2 separate regions of the Homo sapiens genome follow, and region 1 is linked to region 2. The links are contacts of gene promoters, found by promoter capture Hi-C in blood cells and fetal thymus (Javierre and others, 2016). All regions are on one chromosome and are shown on one strand. Each heading gives the region's core, a stretch centred on a gene start or on the middle of the fragment in contact. The rest is flanking DNA. Distances are from core to core; before and after follow the strand shown. Region 1 has its middle 18 kb from the start of RUSC2. Region 2 holds the start of PHF24 (PHD finger protein 24).

Evidence for each region. The method cuts DNA at HindIII sites, captures the fragments that hold promoters and counts their contacts. A CHiCAGO score of 5 or more calls a contact.
Region 1: a contact is called between a fragment that was not itself captured here and the fragment with the promoter of PHF24 in region 2, in 3 of 17 cell types (M2 macrophages, megakaryocytes and erythroblasts). The highest score is 7.3, in M2 macrophages.

The regions. Positions count from the first base shown.
Region 1 is chr9:35,469,458-35,473,812 of GRCh38, forward strand. It overlaps the pseudogene ATP8B5P. Among named protein-coding and RNA genes, the nearest start is that of RUSC2, 18 kb to the right of the region's middle. The HindIII fragment of the contact is 1,104 bases long and covers 2,526-3,629 here.
Region 2 is chr9:34,956,298-34,960,484 of GRCh38, forward strand. PHF24 (PHD finger protein 24) reads left to right here and starts at 1,988. Exons shown (of 8, transcript NM_015297.3): 1 at 1,988-2,104. RefSeq lists an enhancer at 547-686 and a silencer at 2,036-2,115. The HindIII fragment of the contact is 16,428 bases long and covers 1-4,187 here.

The sequences.
Region 1 (4,355 bases), core at 1,828-4,327, 510 kb after region 2:
TGGTGTACAAAATGCTCTGAGATATATCTAGAGGTTGCATAAATGCCTTCCATGTCCAGAATACTGTGCTAGGAAGACACTATGTGGTTTATACAAAAAGACAGTTATCCCTGCCCTCAAATAACTTATAAAGTAAGTGGCTAAATAAGACATAAAAACACATGAAATAACTAGAAAACATACACACAAATTTGGTGATGCTTAAAGCATGGGTAGTTTCCCCAGGAAGATAGGCCAGGCAGCCCATAGTTTACCAATGAGATAGGTCCAAACATTCACTTGTAAGTCAATTAATCAGAATTCAGAATCCATTTTCCCACACAAACAGTGTGACAGATGGTAGATAGGTGTAATTGTGACCTAAGTTCAACTCCTAAAAGTTGTGGAAGAGAAGAGGAAGGGTTTCCCTTCCTCTTTTTCATAAGCACCTTGAATGAAAATTTGAAATAGCTGAAAAAAGTATTTACCCTACTCTGATCATCCTTTTCTGGGTTCTGCATTTCCTTACACATACACACACCCAAACACATTTTAGTTTCCTCCTTTCCAGGCTTTCTAAACCCTGTACCGGGGCTTTTTGGCAATAAAAAAAAAAGGACCCTATGTAACTAGATTACCTTATTTAGTAATATTTATTGAGTATCTACTATGTGCTAAGGTTTAGAGAGATTGCTATGGTGGCTGATATGGTAAAGGATGGGAGGGGTCCCAACTCCAGGCATAGAGATTATCAGTAATGAGTCAATGATGAGGACCTGAGCACCTCCTTCCTCACCTCAAAGGAAAAAATCCCCATCTGTCAGTGCAGCTGTCTCAGACAGGGATTACTAATAATCACTCTTATAATAAAGCAGACTAACACACATTAAGTATGAATGATGATAAGAAGGAGACCCCTTAAAAGTCTTCACTGTTTTAAAATGAACATGCTTGTTAGCCATAAAGAATCTATAATGGACGCTATTTGGAGCAGAAGAGGAGTATGACAGAGGCAATAGGGAAAACTTATATAAAATGAGAAGAGGTTGTTGTGGGAGGAGACACACCACAGGCAGGCTGGCTCTGCCTGGAAATTTATCAGAGGGTCAGCCCATAAACTATTCCTGATTTTCATAGCTTCTTTCCTTCTTCTGAAATAAACTCTGAGTGTGTCAAGGTTCTCTGTCTTCCCCATGTGACAGGAGCAATAATCCTCCAATTGGGCCAACACAGCCTTTTATAAGTTAACTGTTACTCTATCACACCTTGCATTACTGCAGAAATTCCAAAATTGTAACTTTTCCTGGATACATTATGGAAAAAAAAAAAAAGAATAAAAGCCAGGTATGACTCAAAAAAGTTAATCAAGTATATCTGGGTCCAGGTGGTAAAGCCTTGGGTGATAATGGCCAAAGTCAGCATTACAATGGGTTGGCTGGTGGGAAGGGTCCTTCAGAAGGGTAGAATCCCAAGGAAGACACTCTGATTTTCAGATGCTTAGCCCTGCTAAGAAAGAAACCAGGATGATATATTTGCTTGTCCTGTTCTGACGCAGAACCATTCTTTTTCTGCTTTCTCCTTAGTGTTGAAATAATAAGATTGGGCAACAGTTTATATATCAACTGGGATCGGAAGATGTTTTATGCACCAAGGAACACACCAGCACAGGCTCGTACTACCACCCTTACTGAGGAGCTCGGCCAAGTCAAATATGTGTTCTCTGACAAAACAGGGACTCTGACTCAGAACATTATGATTTTCAACAAATGTTCTATTAATGGGAAGCTCTATGATATGCATGTCTTCCTGCTTTCCCCAAGTCCTGGGAAATTTTTACTTTGCAAATTGTTTTCAAGACTAATCTAGCTCTAAATCTGTAAGCCTCTGGAATTCACATTTATCTCCTATTCTCACAACTGTCTCTATTCTCTAAGCAAAGACCACCCAGCCCAAACAGTTCTAACCAAAAAGCATTTATTTAGCATCTTATAGGTACAATCTATTGTGTTGGGCATTGAGAATACCGAGATGTGCAAGACTTAGTCTCTGTCCTCAAGGAGTCCCCAATGTCTATGTACTCAGTTCACTCCCACTTTAAATCAGATGGATGTTGGTCAAAGGGTACAAAGTTTCAGTTAGGCAGGAGGAATAAGTCTTCAAGATCCATTGCACAGCATGTTGATCCTAGTTAATAATAATGTATTGCATATTTCAAAATTACTAAAAGAGTTTTAAATGTTCTCACTACAAAAAAATAAGTATGCAAGGTGATAAATATGTTAGTTAGCTTGATATAATCATTCCATGGTGTATACATATATGAAAACATCACATTGTATCCATAAATATATACAATTAGTATTTGTCAATTAATAATAAAATTAAAAATAAATTAAATGGAGCAGTCAATGTATTACTGAAGCTGCTAATTTCTTGATTCCCCTTTACAGCAATAAATATTATTGAGAGAAACCATCAAAGGGTAGTCAGAGTTTGATCAGTGTCTCCCAGGCCCAATCCCTTATTTATCTTATGCCTTAAGCATAAGCTTGTTTTTGTGATAGAGTTAAGTCCTCATGTGTGTGAACAGTCATACCCAGTGTCCTAGCTAACAGAGGAAGGTAATCACATCTAAAAAACTAGAACACATGGAATAATCTTTCTGGGGTGACGAAAAAGTTTAGAAACTTGAGAGAGGTGGTAGTTGCACATTGTAAATGCACTAAATGCCTCTAAATTGTACACATTAAAATGGATAATTATATGTTAACTAAGTAAATTTCATATCAATAAGTAATTGAAATTTTTTAATTAAAAAAAGCTAGGCCGGGTGCGTTGGCTCACGCCTGTAATTTCAATACTTTGGGAGTCTGAGGCAGGCGGATCACCTGAGGTCAGAAGCTCGAGACGAGCCTGGCCAACATGGTGAAACCCCATCTCAACAAAAAATACAAAAATATTAGCCAGGCATGGTGGCACATGCCTGTAATCCCAGCTACTTGGGAGGCTGAGGTGGGAGAATTTCTTAAACCCGGGAGGTGGAAGTTGCAGTGAGCCAAGATCATGCCACTGCACTCCAGCCTGGGTGACAAGAGTGAAACTCCTGTCTAAAAAAAAAAAAAAAAAAGACTAGAGCACTCTAATATTTCCTATTATTTCCTATATTTCCTATTATTTGTTTGGTAACCATGTCAAACAAATTTTCACTTATATAAACTCTGAAGGCTTATTTTTGGATGAGCTGATTTGGGTGAGCCTCTTAATTCTCTGACCTGACCATATACTGGGTAAAGTTGAAAAGGACCATGAGTGTTTCCATGCTTGGCATCAGACATGTCTTCTACCCCTATTCAGTCTGTCATCCACTGGTCAAGAATCCCAAACATTCTAAAACTGTGTCCACATCTCTTCTGGGTAACTCTTATGATTGGAGGGCTTCCTGAGGTGTGAAGTCTATCACAGATCCAGTGACTAACTTCTAGCTTCATCTTATTCTCACTTAGGGGAGAAGAGTTGAGGCCCAAGCAAACCTCTTCTTACCATTGGCTTAGGGAAAGGAGCTTACTGGGAACTGGGAGCTAGGTGGCCTGAGGAGACTGGGGGGCAGGCATCTTGACTGCAAGTCTAGGATGAAGGAATCAGAATAAATAAGCTTTTAAGGCCCCTCCTTTAAATCACCATATGACCCAGCAATTTGATTCCTAGGTATATACCCCCAAAACTTGAAAACAAGAACTCGGATACATGTATACCAACGTTCATTGTGACATTATTCGCATAAGTCCAGAGATAGAAATAACCCACATGTCCATCCACAGATGAATGGATAAAGAAACTGTGGTATAGCATATACATACAATGGAATGTGAATCATCCATAAAAAGTAATGAAATTTGATACATGCTACAACATGGATGAACCTTGAAAGCATTATGCTAAGTGATGTAAGCTAAACACAAAAAGACAAAAATTTTATGATTCTACTTATGTGAACTATCTAGAATAGGCAAATTCATAGAGACAAAAAATAGACTAGAGGTTACTAGGGGCTGGTGATGGGAAAAAATGGGAAGTTTCTGTTTGGGGTGCTGAAAAAATGTTGGAAATATATAGTGGTGATTGTTGCACAACATTGTGAATATAATTAATGTCATTGCATTTTACATTTAAAATAGTTAAAATGGCAAGTTTTATGTGATATATATGTATATTTTTTTAACAACAATTTAAAGAAATTCAAACCCTCCTTTAAAACCCTTGCCAAGTCTCTGCTGTGTTCACTTACCAACAGGTGATACTTATGACAAGGATGGACAGAGGGTGACGGTCTCTGAGGTGAGTGATTACAGCTCCATGGGAAATGCATGTGGGAGCTG
Region 2 (4,187 bases), core at 738-3,237:
CACCCAGGCTGGAATGCAGTGGTGCGATCTTGGCTCACTGCAACCTCTGCCTCCTGGATTCAAGAGATTCTCCTGCCTCAGCCTCCCGAGTAGCTGGGACCACAGGCGCGTGCCACTGCACCTGGCTAATTGTTGTGTTTTTAGTAGAGGTGGGGTTTCACTATGTTGGCCAGGCTGGTCTCGACCTCAGGTGACTCACCTGCCTCGGCCTCCCAAAGTGCTGGAATTACAGGCGTGAGCCACCACGCCTGGCCACAATATAAATTTTTTTGAATGAAGGAAGGAATTAACCGACAGAGATTTATATGATGATGTTACAACCTCCTTTTCCATATAAGCCCATCAGACAGCCTAGAAATAAAACACTTACTAAAAACAGTTCAGAGAAGTCTATCTGTGAAACTGTCGGTATGATGTAATTCTAAAGAAAGTTAGGGGGGGACCCCCAGACTATATGGAAGGCTCAGTCTGCTTTTTAGTGCTAGTTTCACAACAAGCAAAATAACCATAGTGTCTCTTGAGAAATAAGCACTAATTTTAGAACTAATAAGTACTAATTTTAGAACTCCATATATTAATGGTTTATAGCCTCTCCTTTCTCAGTGGCAGGACTGAGAAATAGGAGCTTGCGGTATGAAATCAGAATACCTGAATTTCAGTCTCACCTCCATCACATATTAGCCATGTGACCTTGGGCGAGTTGTTTAACCTCTCTTTGCCTCAGTTTCATCACTGGCAAAATGTCGAAACTAACAGTAGACTCCCTCAAAGGGATGGTGTGAAAATTAATGACAACATATTTAAACCATTTAGAATAGTACCTGGCACTTCGTGTTTTAAAGTGATAGAAATATACCATACTTGCCTTATATCCTCTATTGGTAAATTCCATGTTAAGGGCAAAATTTCTTTTTTATATCGCACCAGGGTACCTAGCACAGTATGTAACAAATACTAGACGCTCAAAAAAATGACATGCATTATATTTGAGGTAAATAAATTGAATGCACAAGAAAATAAAGGTATTTTAAAAATGTAAGTGCAATTAATATAAATTAAAGGGCTCTCGACATATCATTTGCATATCTTCAATTTTTCCTTATAATTAGTTGCTGGCTATCTTACGATTTTATCTTTTTCTTGCCCTCTTCAAAGCATGTAGTTTGGTGTAATGCACATTATAGCCCTCAGAATTGCTGGCCTTCTGACAAGCTAGCTGTTTGGATATTGTGAGGGATGAGGTTGCTGCAGCAAAAAGTGGGTTACACGACAGCACAGCCTCGCTGCTGGAGATGAAAAACCAATAATCCCAGAAAACAGCGCATAGGGTAGGCTGGGCCAGCCGAGGATTATGTGAAGGTTCGTTGGGACCCTCCGGAGGCCAGTGGGGTACTGCAAAGGTGAGTGCCCCAGTGCCAGGGGTCGTGAGCCCGGAGCCCTGCGGGGGACGGCTGGTAGGCCCTGCTGGATGAGTCATTCTCCCCACCCCGGGCACGTGCTGGTGGCGGCATCCACCCGGACCCCGCCTTCCCCCCACCCAACCCCCGGCGCGGAACGCGAGCGGTGAGCGGCCCCAGCGCCCCCAAGGCGCCCCCTCCGGGCCGCCTCCTCCGGGCGGGCACTGTCCTTGCCGCAGTCGGCCGCTGGCGCAGTCCCCGCGCCGCAGTGCCGGGCGCTCGTGGGGGGCGCCCACGGGCACCTGGGCCGTCTGCTCATCGGAGCCGTCCGCCGTCCTCCCGCATTCCCACGGCGCCCCACGCCCGCGCGCCCGTCGCCGGTCACCCGCCGCCCGCGGAGCCGCGAGGGCGTCTCCTGGAGGCGCAAGAGGACTGGGCGGGGCGGGGCGCGCCCACCGGCCGGCCCAGGGCACCTCGCGCGGGTGCACACGCCGCAGCCCCCCGGGGCGGGTGGGTGTGCTCCGGCCGCGCGCGCCGCCGCCGCCGCCGCCGCCGCCGCCGCCTCCTCAGCCTGCCGCTCCGCCCGCGCCGCCTGCTGCCGGCGCTCGGCCCAGCACGCCGGCTCTCGGGCTGCCGTGGGCTGCGCGGGGCCCGCGGTGTGTAGAGTCCGCCGCCCCGGAGCCGCGTCCCGCACCCGGACGGTCCCGGTAAGCGGGGGCGGGGGCGGCGGGGACCGGGCCGTCACCTGAGGGGCGGGTCTGCGGCCGCGGACAGTCCTCCGGGACTCTGAGGTGCTTGTGTGGGAGCCGCCTCCAAGGTGGCCCCCCTGTGTCATTGGATGAACCCCAAGTAGCTGCTGCCTCTACGCCTTGGGGGAGTCCCTGAGGTGCTGTGGGGAGCCGCCCCCATAAAGACCCCCTGTGGGAATGGACTCCCGCGGCGCTGTCTGCATTTGCTGCCATAGGGAGCCCCAGCGTGGAGGGGACTGGCCCCAGAGAGCCCTTCTGTGTCACTGTGGGAGCAGGCACAAGGGTGGTCTCTGGAGCTGGCTCAATGGAAGACCACCTGGGAACATAGGGGAGCCGCAGGAACCTCGAGGTGGTGGAGCCCCCAGAGGGCTCCCTAGAAAAGGAGGACCTGAGACTGTGCCCTAGAACTGTGGGAAGCAACCTCTGACTGGGGAGGGGGATCCTCCCATGGGATCCATGAGTGACTTCCCACGGCTCCAAGGACTTTGGCCTCCACCGGGATCCCTGTAGGGTTCCATGTGCCCTTACTTGTATCCCCACACCGTGGCCCAGAGGTGGGGGCCTTCTAGGGCTGCAGCCTCTTTCCATTCCTCCTCTTTCCCCATTCGGATTTTTCTTCTCCATGGTAGCCCAGTTGCTCCACGCTGCATTTTAGTGGAGACAGAAACTGCTGCGAGAGCACAGGGCCCTAAGCCGAGGATGAGGACCAGTGAGGCCTCTAAAGCAAAGATAGGAGATTTGAGCCCCTAGGTTTGACCGTGCGGAAGGAAGCAGTAAGATCAGGTGGAATAACTGACTTTGGCAGGTCCTGGAGGGAAAGGCCTTTGAAGGAAGGAATAAAGGATGTATGGGATTGTTGAGCACCAGTACGCTAGGCAGTATACTAGGTATGTTTAAACATCTCATATAACTCTTACAACAGCTTTGTGAAATTATCCCCTTTTAAACATTGAGACTCAGAGAGGTTTAGCAATTTGCCCAAGGTCACAAAGCTGATGAAAAACATAATCATAAAATGTTTTTCAAATTTTATTTGGGAAAAAGTACTAAGGAGCAGCAGAAGAAAGAATAGATATTTGTTAATAAGTTGCATTAAGGTGCCTGCCGAGCATAGGGTTTTGCAGTGGTACAAGCTCAGTAAATGTGATGATTAAATAAGTGGATGAGGACAGTTTAACTGGCCATGAGATTGCTGCAGGAACTGATTTCCACAGAATCCCCAGATTTCAGGGTGTGGCTTCCTTCACTGGCAGTCCCACTGTCATGATGCCTTGGGGTGGCTCTGGACCTAATTGAGGCCTCTGGGTGTGGTTTTTGACAGGGCTTTCTCTGGGGATCTAGGGGGACCCTTCTGCGGATGGAGTGTCCCAAGACCACCCTACCTGCTACCGAATACTCGAAGGAGAGAAAGGAGAGACAGGATCACTTTTAGGAAGCACGATCCACACTGTCCTTGTGACCCTCTGACTACATGCACCGGTGGACAATGGTCCACAGATAGCACTCAGGACACTTTTGCCCAAGAGTGCCTCTGCATGAGGAGGAGGAGGACAGGAAAGGTGCAGAGCCAAGGAAGGCTCACTGGGAGTCTGTTAGGGGGAGCGCAAAGGGTCTGCGCCAGACATAGTGTTGCCTCCTCATCTCGCCCCCTCGTTGTTTTCATTCTAGCTGAATCCCAAGAGTTCAACTTTGAGCTCCAAGGATGGATTCTGGTTTCTTGTCCAAAAACGGAGTGGTGAGAGGGCCAAGCAATGATATTCATTAGAGCCATTCTGGAAGGGTTTTCCTGCTCCCCTTCCCTGCTTTCTTCCACACAGTCAAACCTAGTTAAATCCTCCTTGAACAGAAGTGGCTTCCTTTGGCTCCTGGAATTACATAGTGAGGAGAGAGACCAAGCTAGTGGGAAAACAGAACAACATAGTTTACCAGTTGTTAGATTTTTTTTCTTTTAACTCAGTGATGCTACCTTGCGCGCAACTCAGTGGAGTAAAGCCCGACAAAGGTTTTTGTTGGTTAGGACCTCCCCATTGTAAAGTTGTTT